2 separate regions of the Homo sapiens genome follow, and region 1 is linked to region 2. Evidence: promoter capture Hi-C in 16 types of primary human blood cells and fetal thymus (Javierre and others, 2016). All regions are on one chromosome and are shown on one strand. The core of a region is centred on a gene start or on the middle of the fragment in contact, and the rest is flanking DNA. Distances in the headings are between cores, read along the strand shown.

Evidence for each region. The method cuts DNA at HindIII sites, captures the fragments that hold promoters and counts their contacts. A CHiCAGO score of 5 or more calls a contact.
Region 1: the fragment with the promoter of EIF2D here is called in contact with the fragment with the promoter of CR1L in region 2 in 2 of 17 cell types (erythroblasts and total B cells); the score reaches 6.2 in erythroblasts.

Annotation. Positions count from the first base shown.
Region 1 is chr1:206,610,147-206,617,130 of GRCh38, reverse strand. It overlaps EIF2D (eukaryotic translation initiation factor 2D), which reads left to right and starts at 4,666. Exons shown (of 15, transcript NM_006893.3): 1 at 4,666-4,844; 2 at 5,757-5,947. The coding sequence starts at 4,789. RefSeq lists a silencer at 4,404-4,613 and an enhancer at 4,904-4,973. The HindIII fragment of the contact is 3,738 bases long and covers 2,028-5,765 here.
Region 2 is chr1:207,640,045-207,646,874 of GRCh38, reverse strand. CR1L (complement C3b/C4b receptor 1 like) reads right to left here and starts at 1,742. Exons shown (of 12, transcript NM_175710.2): 1 at 1,545-1,742. The coding sequence starts at 1,641. CR1 (complement C3b/C4b receptor 1 (Knops blood group)) reads right to left here. Exons shown (of 47, transcript NM_000651.6): 47 at 5,110-6,830. It also overlaps the pseudogene CD46P1. RefSeq lists an enhancer at 1,633-1,712 and a silencer at 1,773-1,942. The HindIII fragment of the contact is 2,525 bases long and covers 1,353-3,877 here.

The sequences.
Region 1 (6,984 bases), core at 3,417-5,916, 1.0 Mb after region 2:
TGCGTATTATAATCAATGAGCCTATATTGACATATCATTATCACTGCAAGTTCATAGTTTACATTATGGTTCATTAGGTGTCGTACATTCTGTGGGTCTGGACAAATGTATAATGACATGTACCCACTACTGTAGTGTCATACAGAAGCATTTCACTGCCCTAAAATCCTCTGTGCTCTACCTGTTCATCTTTCCCTCCCCCACGGATCTCTTTACTATCTCCATAGTTTTGCCTTTTCCAGAATGTTGTTGGGGTGATCAGACCCAACACCAGGTCGTGGGGGCGACGAAGTCCAGCAGAGTCAAAAGAATGAGAAAAAGACAGTTTGAGAGAGAAAGTGGGACCAGGGGACCATCGTGAGTGTGGAGGCTGCCAAGGCCCCGATTTCTGGGCGTCCATGGCTGCTTATTGGTGCTCAAACAAACAAACAGGTGGTGAAGATGTGGGGGTTGACAGGAAACAGTGTATCAAGTGAATGGCTGCTTGAAATAATGGGTGTGCTAGAAGCAAGGAGCCAGCAAGTCTAGCAGACATGGAAGCCCTGCCTCAGCTGCTCTCCCAACACTCAGCTTTTCTCCCAACATGTGCTCTACCTGTTCATCTTTCCCTCCCCCACAGATCTCTTTATTATCTCCAAAGTTTTGCCTTTTCCAGAATGTTATATAGTTGGAACCATCACTTACATACTATCAGTATGATCTTTTTCAGATTGGCTTCTTTCACTTAATATAATAATACACATTTAAGATTCCTTCATGTTCTCTCTCACTTCTCTCTTCTCTCTCCTTTCTTTCAGACTGAGTCTCACTCTATCGCCCAGGCTAGAGTGCAGTGGCACAATCTCAGCTCACTGCAACCTCCACCTCTGGGTTCAAGCAATTCTCGTGCCTCACCCTCCCAAGTAGCTGGGATTACAGGTGCCCACCACCACGTGTGGCTGATTTTTGTATTTTTTAGTAGAGATGGGGTTTCACCACGTTGGCTAGGCTGGTCTCGAACTCCTGACCTCAAGTGATCTGCCCACCTTGGCCTCCCAAAGTGCTGGGATTACAGGCGTGAGCCACTGCGCCTGGCTCCTGCATGTCTTTTAATGGCTTGATAGCTCATTTCTTGTTAGTGGTGAAGAATATTTCATCATCTGCATGTACCACAGTTTATTTATCCATTCACCTACCAAAGAACATCTTGTTTGCTTCCATGTCTTGTCAATTCTGGGTAAAGCTACTATAAATGACTATGTGTAGGTTTTTGTGTGGATATACATTTTCAACTCATTTATATAAATTCCAAGGAGAGTGATTGCTGGATTATATGGTAAAAGCATGCTTAGTTTTGTGGTAGTTTTTGTTTTGTTTTGTTTTACATTTAGATCTTTATCTGGAATTTCTTTTTATGAAAATATGAGGTAAACTTTCCTCCTAAATGGATAGGCATTTGTCCTGACATCATTTATTGCATCCATTTTTTCCTAGTGGTTGGAAAGCATCATCCACAGACTAAATCATGCAAGGTAACTGTGTGAGCCTGGACAAGTTAGTTAACATCTCTGTACTCCAGGTTTCTCACCTGGCAAAGGGGTTAACAATAACTGCTTACAGCATTGGTATGAAGGTAACATGAGGCAATGGGCATGGACACATTTGAAAAAGTAAAAATCCCGTATCCCTGAATCATCTGTATATGGGTGAAGATAACATGACTCTTTCTGAGGCTGTGAACACACTTGCTCATCTGAAAAGCCATCCAGATCCATCAAAGAATTCTCAAACCATTGGTCACATTTGAAATGTAGATGCCAATGATCCATATTTTCAGGGGATTTGCGTGTGGGCTTCAGTAGAAGGGAAGAGAAGGCTAGTGAAGGAGTAACTAGTAGGTAGCCATGGATGAATTATCAGTTTGGGTACCCTGTGGTCCTATAGACTTCAAGAGGACATAAATACCACTTGTTAGACTGTGAGTTCCTTGAGGGCAGAGTGCTTGTGTCGAATTTGTCTTAAAAATCACAGAGCCTGATTAGAAAGCTTCCAGTTAAGTTTCAATGAATTAAACTAAATTTTCTCCATTAGGACTCACTGGGAAGAGAAGAAAAAGGAAGTCTAAGGAAAATGGAATCTCTCATCTGGCCTACCCTTGCTTCCAAATACTTGGTACTCTTGTAAAGAATCCAATTTACAGCCAGTTGCTATCAAGTATAATTAGTGAAAACGATCCTTTTTCTCAGTAAATGGCAGCTTTCTTGGTATAGTTGCCCTGTGCCTTGCTGCAACTTGGCAGCTCAGACCCACCAGTGGGGAACAGTCTGGGAGCCCTGTGGGGTGGCTCTGGAGCTGCTGATGGAAGGCACAGGAATCAGGGCTTGCTGAACTTAAGGTTCAGGCTGCTTTCCCTGCAATAGGGTCAGCCAGCAGGGAGCAGGCAGGTCTGTGATGCAAGCAGAGAAGGTGGGATTGTGCCCACTGGGGAAGGGGGCTCTTGCTCTACCAAAGAGGAGGCTGGATGCCATGGTGCAGAATCCTCTGGGGTCTTGGCTCCTACTTGTCAACCACTAATTAATTTTTAGGTTTACAATTGATGTTTTCTTATCCAAGGACATCTGGTATACAAAAGTTCCCCTAGCTTAAAATGTTTAGTATTCTCTGAATAGCTTTCCTCTGTTCCCTAAGAAAGAGGCTTCCTCAGCAGCTGTGCTGCAAAAGACCCCAAATGTATTGCACATCCGAAGAGTGGCTAAGTGGGAGGTGAAGGGTGGGTACAGGGGTCTGTTGTAGGCACTGTCCTCCTCTGGGCTCCTTTGACATTGGCCTGGTGGCTGGGATACTTCAGAATAAAGGCCTAGTGGGTCACAGGTTTAGGAGGAGTTGGGGCTGGTCCCTAGGCCACTATAGGTGGTGGGCAAACATTGTAGAAGGCCTAATGTTTAGAAAGCCAGTGTGGAATTCTCCTTTGTGCAACTGCGTCACTGAATCAATTGGGATTTTTTATTGGTGAATGGACACTTGGAAGTTTTAATATGCAAAACATAATTTACTTTTATTACTTAAATTGCTTAATGTAATTTTAATATGCAAGACTTAATTTACGAAGAGCCAGGATTCCGGGTGTTTAAATCCTTGTCTCCAGGGAACACAGCTGTCCCTTTGAGGAAAACCTAATTTCTCTTCCCTGCCTGTGTGACTTTGGGACAAATCTGGGACAACAGTGAATTCTCTATTACTGTTATTACCACCCAAGTAAACTAAAAATCCGGGATGAGAAAAATCTTACAGAAAATTCTAGCTGAGGCTTCTAGCTTATAGTACAATGAATAGACCTTAATCATAGAATGCCTTTAAGAAAAACATTTAGGCCCGACTTGGTGGTTCACACCTGTCCTGTAATCCCACCACTTTGGGAGGCCGAGGCGGACAGATCTCTTGACCTCAGGAGTTTGAGACCAGCCTGGGCAACAAGGTGAGATCCTGTCTCTACAAAAAATACAAAAATTAGCCTGGTGTGGTGGTGCCCGCCTGTAGTCCCAGCTACTCGGGAGGCTGAAGCGGATGGATCGCTTGAGCCCGGGAGGTGGAGGCTGCATTGAGCTGAGATTGCGCCACTGCACTCCAGCCTGGGTGACACAGCGAGACCCTGTCTCCAAGTAAACAAAATAAAATAAAATAAAGAAAAATATTCAAAAAGCCCTCGAGGTTTTTTTGTTTGTTTGTTTGATTTTTTTGATACGGAGTCTTACTCTGTTGTCCAAGGTGGGGTGCAGTGGCACAATCTCGGCTCACGGCAACCTCTGCCTCCTGGGCTCAAGCGATCCTACCGCCTTAGCCTCCCCAGGCATGCGCCACCACACCCGGCTGAATTTTTCTTTTTTCTTTTCTTTTTTTTTTTTTTTTGAGACGGACTTTCACTCTTGTTGCCCAGGCTGGAGTGCAATTGTGCAATCTCGGCTCACCACAACCTCTGCCTCCCGGGTTCAAGCAATTCTCCTGCCTCAGCCTCCCGAGTAGCTGGGATTACAGGCATGCTCCACCATGCCCGGCTAATTTTGTATTTTTAGTACAGACAGGGTTTCTCCATGTTGATCAGGCTGGTCTCGAACTCCCGACCTCAGGTGATCCGCCCACCTCGGCCTCCCAATTCTTTTTCTTTCTTTCTTTCTTTCTTTTTTTTTTTTTTTTTTTTTTTTTTTATTTTGTATTTTTTATGGAGATGGGGTTTCGCCATGTTGCCCAGGCTGGTCTCGAACTTCTGGGCTTAAGCGGTCCGCCCGCCTCGGCCTCCCAAAGTCTGGGATAACAGGCTTGGGCCACCGCGCCCGGCCGAAGCCTGAACTGTTTATCAGTTCAATTATTTTTGCGGAATTGAACCGAACCGAATGGAATGGGAGCTTGCAGAGAGCTTCTACTCAAAGCAGTTCCTAAGGTTGATGGGGTGGAAGGAAATAAACAGAACAGCTATTGGCGTGGCCGAGTCGCTACGGACGGGGAACCCGAGCCGCTCGCGCAGGCGCAGAGCCAGGCCCGCGAGGGGATGGGAAGGTGGGGGGGAGGGGCGTTCCCTGGGCCCTGCCCCTCCCTGCCCTGCTTTAGTTCCAGGTACCGCCACTGGGGGCGGCCGCGGCCTCCCCAGCGGCAACGGCCACGAAGCTGCGCGGCCCTGGTTTCCAGCCGGGCCCTTTTCGCGGCCGGGCCCCAGCATGGCTGCCCCCACGGCTGAGGGCCTGGCAGCTGCTGCGCCCTCGCTTTCTTGACATTCCCTGGCTTCTGTGCTCTCTTCCCCAGGCCACCCCAGCAGACATGTTTGCCAAGGCCTTTCGGGTCAAGTCCAACACGGCCATCAAGGGGTCGGACAGGTGAGGGAGGAAAGGGGCCTGCTCTGCCACGGAACAACCAGACACCTCTTGGGCCCCGCTGGCCCATAGCCCTCGCTATTCTTGGCCGACATCCTCGGGTGGAGGCCGAGGGGTATGCCAGGGAAGGGACCCCAGGAGGCAAGGGTGGGTTAGACACATTTTGAGGTGAGGATGGAGGGGGACCTGGCTCTCTTTTGGATAGTCTAGTGAGTTTAAAAGAAAACGTAGTTAAGTCAGAGTTTACTGACTGCAGACTATTTAAGGTGTTGTGGAGAATGCAGAAGTGAAGGAATACAGAATTCTTGCCCTCCAAAGAGCTTAATGCCCCTTGGGAGAGATCGGATGGGATACCAAGAATTAAAAGTATAAGAGAAAAAAATGACTAGTGATTAATTCTGGCAGGAGAGACAGCTGGAAACTGAGGTGGGAGGGAATAAGGCACATGTGGTAAGAAGAACTGTATCTGTTCAGACAGGGTCACAAATGGAGATTGTGTTTGGAATTTTGTAACCAGTGCTTTATAGTTGTCTATAGGTCTCATGGCATAGTTATTTAATCATAAACTGGCATATTTGCGAAGCATGTATGAGAAAGGAGTGGGCCCAAGGGCTAGGCATGAAGTCAGGAAGGCAGGGCTGTTTCCTGTGTCAGGCTAACTTGGATTGTTCACTGGGCCTGTTTTCCCACCCATAAAATGGGAAGGCATACCCCAGGAATGAGTGAAAATAGATGACAATGGATGAAAAAGAGTTTAGGATGTTTCAGAAGAGTGTGTGTGAGACTAGGACATCATAAACCAGGCAATCTTTCTTTGGCCCTTGTGATTTTATAGTGAGCACTTTTGAGTTCGTTCTTGATATTTATTAAAAGTCTGTCCAGGCAGCATTCACAGTGCTGGTGTGCTTTCCACAGGAGAAAGCTTCGAGCTGATGTGACAACTGCTTTCCCCACCCTTGGAACTGATCAAGTCTCTGAGTTAGTACCTGGAAAGGAGGAGCTCAACATTGTGAAGTTGTATGCTCACAAAGGGGATGCAGTGACTGTGTACGTGAGTGGTGGTAACCCCATCCTCTTTGAACTGGAGAAAAATCTGTATCCAACAGGTATGACAACAGGACGAAGATGGCCATTACCATTAGGTAGTTCTTGCCTAACATCTGCTTCTCTCTGTTTCTTCCATTGTCTCCCATAAAATAAGCAAGCACGAAATCTCCCAATACCATCCCCAAGGATCTTTATGGACCTGGTGTTCCTAGAATTGGGTCTTTCAATTCTAGGATGCAAAAGGTTTTCTCTTATGCAAAACCACTATAGGAGGGATTAAAAAAAGGGCTGACATAGTAAGTAAGGGTGGTTGCAAAGGGAAGTTCTGAGATGAAGGAACAGTGGCTGAGAAGTTTACAGTGGGTTGACTAGGAATAGAGCAGAGGTCTTGAAAAGGATGGAATTTCAGGGCATGTCTTCATGAGACAGAGTCTTGCTCTGTTGCCCAGGCTGGAGTGCAGTGGCGCAATCTCAGCTCACTGCAAGCTCCGCCTCCTGGGTTCACACCATTCTCTTGCCTCAGCCTCCCGAGTAGCAGGAACTACAGGCACCCGCCACCACACCTTGCTAATTTTTTGCATTTTTTAGTAGAGACGGGATTTCACCATGTTAGCCAGGATGATCTTGATCTCCTGACCTCATGATCCGCCCGCCTCGGCCTCCCAAAGTGCTGGAATTACAGACGTGAGCCACCGCGCCTGGCCAAAAATATATATATTTTTTAGAGACAAGGTCTTACTCTGTCACCCAGGCTGAAGTGCAGTGGTGTGATCGTAGCTAACTGTAACCTCAACCTCCTGTGCTTAAGGGATCCTCCCACCTCAGCCTCCTGTGTAGCTGGGACTACAGGCATATGCCACCATGTCTGGCTACGTTTAAAATTTTTGGTAGAGACAAGGTCTCACTATGTTGCTCGGGCTGGTCTTGAACTCTTGAGCTCAAGTGATTTTCCTGCCTCAGTCTCCCGAAGTGTTGGGATTACAGGCATGAGCAGGGTGCCCAGCCTAAAAAATGTTTCTTAAAACTATCTGTAGCAGGATTTTCCTAAAATACTGAAAAGATATACTGTGATAGGAATAAAGCTGGATTGATAAGC
Region 2 (6,830 bases), core at 493-2,992:
TCCTAAATATAATTTGGACATAGATACACATGAAACACAATAAAGTCAGAAGGAAATATAACAAAATATTAAAAACAGTTGTCCTTTTATTTTGTTCATTTTGCACAATAAGCCTGTATTTAAGCATGTATTTTTTGGCTTTTTTTTTTTTTTTTTTTTTTTTTGAGACAGGGTCTCACACTGTCATCCAGGCTGGAGTGCAGTGGCATGATCACAGCTCACTGCAGTCTTCTCCTCCTGGGCTCAAGCGATCCTCCCACCTCAGCCTCTGGAGTAGTTGGGACCACGGGCATACACCACCATGCCCATCTAATTTTTTTATTTTTTGTAGACATGGGGTTTTGACATGTTGTCCAGGCTGATCTTGAACTCCTGGGCTTAAGCAATCACCCAACTTGGGCCTCCCAAAGTGCTGGGATCACAGGTGTGAGCAACTGGGCCTGGCCTAGCATGCATTTTTAAAAATATTGATTCCATTCAATGAAATACAAAACAGTGGGATAGGCCTTAAGCTTCAGTTTATGAGCTGTAGGGGAAAACAAGATTAACATTATCTGCCTTCCTTTGTTAGGATACTAATTTCTCACTAGGTTTGGCTACCAGTGTTTTTTAGGTTGCTTCACATCTCTCAAATATGACTCAAACTAATGAAAAGAAGGAAAACAATGTCAAAAAGCCACTAGGCAATGGAATCAGATACTGTCTATATTGGTTGGGAACAGGAAGATGACTCGATGGCCCACCCACCCCCCAAAAAAGCAGCCACTTAAAATTCAAGACCAATACGATCTCAGGCAACACGGACACTGTTCACAGAAGGCACTAAAAGCATGGTGCGCCCTTACCACCTCTCTAACCCCAGGCACTGAGAGCCTGCTCTCACTCAACATGCCCTCCCTAGCCGCAGAGTCCGCGCTCGCTCCACTCAAAGCAAACAGTGAGCTGTCTTGCCCACAGTGAACTCCGCACACAGGCCACTTGCGCACAGCACGCTCCCAGCAACACCTGGCCAGGCCCCTGCTCGCCCAGCCCAGCCCAGGCCAGCCCAGCCCATGGGGCACAGCAGACGCACTGCAACCCTTACCGCGGGTACTGTCCAAGCCCTAATGAACACCCTACTCACCAAGGCACCAAGGGAACACAGGGCAAACTCTCACCACGGGCACAGCACGGGCTCTAGCAACAATCCCACGCACCTGTGCACTCCAGAGCAAGCCCTCACCTGGGGCGCCCAGTAAGCCCTCCCCTTGCTGACTGGGCTCAATCCCGAAAACACGATTCACGCTTCTTTTGGGAACGCAGCCAGATCCTGCGTAAATGTCGGCCGCGCACACGATGCCACCAAACAAGCTTCTGCGTGGTTCCCGCATCCCCCGCCACATACCCCCGGGATCTGAGCACGGCACCCCTCGGAGAACCCTGGCCTCGCTCTCTATCCCAAGCAGGCACGACGTGCAGTGAGCTTCGCCCCGCGCCTCCTGCCCGACTGACTGAGCAGAGCTCTAGCCTCGCCGCGGACGCGCGAATCCACCCCGGGGTCCTACCGGAGAAGGAGGACAGCAGCAACACCAGGGCCGCCAGAAGCAACCCAGGAAAGCGCCGGGAAGGAAAGGGACGCTCGAGACGGACGGGAGGCGCCATGAGCGGCGCGGGAGACCCCGTGATTTATCCGGAGGTGAGCAGAGAAACCGAAAGCCAGCCGAGCAGGGAAGTCCCTTCTGAGTCCGGTTAGTGGACACAACAATCCCCAAACTCACAGTTTCCAGGGCCGCATGACAGGTGGGCGTGGCCTGGGCGCGTAGTGTGAAATTGAGTCTTAGCGCCGGGGCGGCTGGGGCCAATCGGCGGGCCGCGGGGCGGGGCCTCGGCGCGCAGGGGCAGCCCGTTGGCCTTCGAGGAGACAGGGCGTGTCCAGAGCCCTGGCAGGGGGTTATCGTGGGCTAGCACCCCTCAGGGTTAGTTTTATCCTGGGGCACTGCAGGCTGTCAGGACTGCCTGGGCCCTTACTTGGTATTTGGCATTAGTCAGGCATTATTGGGAACAATATTTGAGTTTTTCTTGCTTGAATGCCTGCTACTGAATCGTCTCGGCGCCGTCTTCTTTTCACAGTCTCAAAGGTTTGGCTTCTGCACTCCCAGCCCCTAAGATAATTTGCCCTTTGCTCCCCTCCCTGGAGAGGACCCGTCAGAATCTAAATTATTAAGCAACACCAGGCCGTTAGCATATTGAGACTCTATGGGACCCTTGCCCTTGAGCAACTAAATGTTTTATTGAAGACGAAATATACATGCATGAACAATGTAAGGACAAGGGTGTCCTAAGTGCCAAATTCCTGGAAGCAATAAATGCAGGAGGATTGGGATGGGTAGAAATTGTTAGGCGAAGTGGATAAGGGGGAGAACTTTTCTGGTGAAACAATCTCAGGAACAATGTTGGAAAATTAAGAATGAGCAGGATTGATTTGTAGGGTTCTGAGTAAGCCAGTATGACTGGTAAAAGGGGGAAAAAAAAAGGGAACATGACTGGCATTAAAAGAGCAAACAAAAAAAGTTGACATCTCTTCCCCTCAGATTGGCAAAGAATTAAAACGTCAGCCAATGTGAGTGAACATGTTGCAGGGGGACCAGCACTCTGTTTGTAACATAACTTTTCAGAATGTTAAAAGTCTTAAAGTGGAAATGACTTGTGTTAGGCTCTCAGTTCCCAGAGAAATCATCAGAGCTGTGATCAAAGATTTATAATTTTTGTAAAAAATGTAAACCCTAAGTGTCTAGCAAAAGTAATAAGGAGGCAGTTACCTTTGTGTGATGGAATTCTATGCAGCAAGTATTGCAAAAGAATACCAAATGTGAGAAACTATGATATCATTGTAAGTGGAAAAAGCAGAGTCCAAATTGGCATGTGCATTTTGGCAGTCCTTTTATTAAAACAAAAATGCTATATATATATATATATATATACATACACTAATTTGGAACACAACAAAATTAACAATGGTTAAGATTATAGATATTTCACTTTCCTTGTGCTTTTCAGTTTTCTTTTTCTATGTTGACCCTATGTTACATTTAGAATAAGGTAAAGAAAATGTATTTTAAAAATCAAATCTATGTATCAATTGTTGTTTTGTTCATAGAATTATGGGAGTAGAACTTGTATTACACAGGGTTTGTATGAGAGGATAGTGAGGAATTAGATGCTTAGTGTATAAACCTAAAATGGGTCTTATGGAATTATAGAGTTTAAATGTATTTAATACAGTTCTATAACTGAGATGTACTGAAGACTTTCTGGGTTCACCAAACCACGGAATTTCCTCTTCCCAAACATTTTCAAATTTTTGGCATAGAATACAAGACATTGAGTCTGGTGGTATATCAAATAAACATCTTAGTATCTTGGATTATAAAATTCAGACACTCTATGACAGTAATTAAAGGAGGTATAATTAAGGGGATAGTAAATAGGAAACTCAATGAGGAGAAATTATTATTCCTGTTAATGTATGGTGTGAAAGAGCAATATGACAGACATGTTCTGTGGCTCAATGCCAGCACTTATTTGTGAAAGCAGATAGTCTATTTATTTTTCTCCACATCAATAGATATTAAAAATTCTCCATTTATTTTCAGGCTTGGAAGAAAGATACCTTTTTCTCATGAGAAAAATTATTATAAAGAATAGAAGAAAAAATATGGCTAGTGTTTGATTTCCTAGTTTCAGGTGTCAGATTAGATTCAAAGATCGGTATTTTATTGAAACTTTCTTTCAATCAGTAAAATTTCCATCCCTGGGGTTAATCAAGCCATTCTTAATATACTCGAAGACTTTCACATTAAATTTATAAAACTAATTTTTATTTGAGTTAACTGAAGCTTCATTTGAATGGTTCTGAGCCTTGTTTCCTATTTTTTGGGATAAGTTCCATAAGTCAGGGTTAGAGCTTTCTTATAATATCTCCAGTGCCAAAATCTGTAGTAAGTGTACAATGAATAGCTGGTAAATATTGGATGAAATAAATGGTTCTTGTGGTCAAGTGCATTTAACATATCTCTGCCAGTTCTCCTCCAGCATGAATTTATTAAATGTCCAGAAATTTCTGAGAGATTTTGATTTAAATAATTTTAGACCCTAGGAAACAAATCGAGATCGGTCTGTAAAATGGATGAGCTACAACTGTCTGCACAGCAAACTTTCCTAAATCAGGTGTTGCAAGCTTACTTGTGAAGTGGAGCTGTGGTCTATCCCTTAGCCTTGAGGTCATTTTAGTGACTGAGTTCAATGTCGACAATGAACTTCCTGAGGCCTTAACGGGTAGAACTTGAAGCCAAAGCTTTGAATGAAGTTGATTTAGGAAATTAATGTTTCCTCCAATTCCCCCTAAAGATTTTGTCAAACTGCCAAAGAGAAGAAAAGGAGAGAATGAGGATATCTGTGTTTGTGGACCCGGTTTAGAACTATGGGATCTCCTTTAAGGGGCTTATGAAGGGCAGTATGGGTGGAGGCTGGTGTGCAGGGATGTCATTAAACTGTGGCCAACTCTTTTAAAATTTGATGTTAGGGCTGGGCGCGGTGGCTCATGCCTGTAATCCCAGCACTTTGGGAGGCCGAGGTGGGCAGATCACGAGGTCAGGAGATCTAGACCATCCTGGCCAACATGGTGAAACCCCGTCTGTACTAAAATACAAAAAATTAGCTGGGCGTGGTGGCGCACACCTGTAGTCCCAGCTACTCAGGAGGCTGAGGCAGGGGAATTGCTTGAACCTGGGAGGCGGAGGTTGCAGTGAGTCAAGATTGCGCCACTGCACTCCAGCCTGGTGACAGAGCAAGACTTTATCTCAAAAAAAAAAAAAAAAAAAAAAAAGAACCATGTTAGATGGTTCTTTGCCTCCTAATTAGTATACTGTATTTACATTATGCTTTTCAGGAGCAAGTGGAGCAGCATGAATGGGCCTCTATTTACACCTGCTAAGCACCTGCCAGCCAACTGACCTTTATGTTTAGCTGTGTCTGATTTTCTTTCCTGTTACTATCAAGAGCATGTCTGTGGCATTACACATCAACACAGGGATTATGAAAACAATCAGGTACAGAACTATATTCCATAAGTAGATTTGCAAAATAAAGTATTTTATTCCTTTCTCATTACAATGGTAGAGACAGAAAATTTCATTAAAGCATCATAAACTTCATAGTACACACTTAAGTGTGCCAAAAAAGCAAACAAAACAAAGAATGTTAGGACTAGCAATAGCTTCATAGGGCAATTGGTGTCCAGCCCCTGCTTTTCAGATGAAAATGTAAGGTCACAGGTTAGCAGAATTGCTTAATAATACAAGTTAGGCAATATAGTATTTTACTCATAGTTAGTATATACAGTATTTATCATTATAACTGATATAATAGAAAAAAACCTTTCAGCTTTCTTGCAATTAAAAAGTGACAGGTGAGGTTGCAGTAAGCCTAGATAGCACCACTGCACTCCAGCCTGGGTAACAGAGCAAGACCCTGTCTCCAAAATAAATCAAAAGTCACAGACATTGAAATATTTATTAATCACATTGCTCACTGACCTACTCCATTCTGGAAAAAAAAAAGAACACAGGATTTTTTTTTCTTGTAATGGGAAATTTTAATTCTAAAAAGGCCAATTCCCAATCACTTAGTTTCTAGTCCTCCTTTAAAAATTACTTCTTCAAAATCCCAAGAAATAAAAGAGATTTGCTAAAGATTCAACTAAGCAAAAGTCCTATCAAGTATCTTTACATATACTCACCACCTATTTGCCCTTCTTTCTTGGTGACCTAGCTGTATGTCCTTTGCCCATTTTTGTTGGGTGGAGAGAAGTTTGGTCTTTAATTTTTAAGTACTCTCTAAATAATAAAGCAATTAGCTTTTGTGATGTAAGTTGCATTTTTTTCTTGCAGTTTATCAGTTGATTTTTCTTAAGCTGGTTTTTTTTCCCTCTCTTCCATGATTTTAAATTGAAATTCAGGTTCATGTCTATCTCACTCCTTATACTGCTGTCAAAGTAAATGTGGCAAAATTCACCTTTAAAGCAACTATTAAACAGAATTACATAGAAATGAGCATTAGTCATATATAAAGCTATTATTAAATATCCAGAAATATTCTGATGTTTTCTAGAGGTCATTAGCATGGCCCATAATATCATAACACATTTTTGTTCTCTAAAGATGTGGACTGGTTAAAGAACACAAGGTCACTTATTTTAAAAATATCAGAACACGTTTATTATTTTGATACATTTTTTAAAAGTTGTGTTTTAAAAAGTTAATTTAGTATATTCTGAATCCATACAAAAGTAAGCTAGTACTTTTATAATAACAATTATTCTTTCATTTCAATTTTTATTATGTTTTTTATATAGAACACAGCACAAAGTGCTTTTGAATTAAAGTTTAGAAAATATCGAAAGCGGCCAGGCGCGGTGGCTCATGCCTGTAATCGCAGCACTTTGGGAGGCCGAGGCAGGTGGATCACGAGGTCAGGAGATCCAGACCATCCTGGCTAACATGGTGAAACCCCGTCTCTACTAAAAATACAAAAAAATTAGCCGGGCGTGTTGGCAGGTGCCTGTAGTCCCATCTACTGGTAATCCCAACTACTCAGGAGGCTGAGGCAGGAAAATGGTGTCAACCCGGGAGGCGGAGCTTGCAGTGAGCCGAGATTACGCCACTGCACTCCAGCCTGGGAGACAGAGCCAGACTCCATCTCAAAAAAAAAGAAGATATCGAAATCTTATTTTCCAAATATTTCTCTTCAGTAGTCTTAACCACTCTTCCCATGATCATTTCATGCCTTTCTAG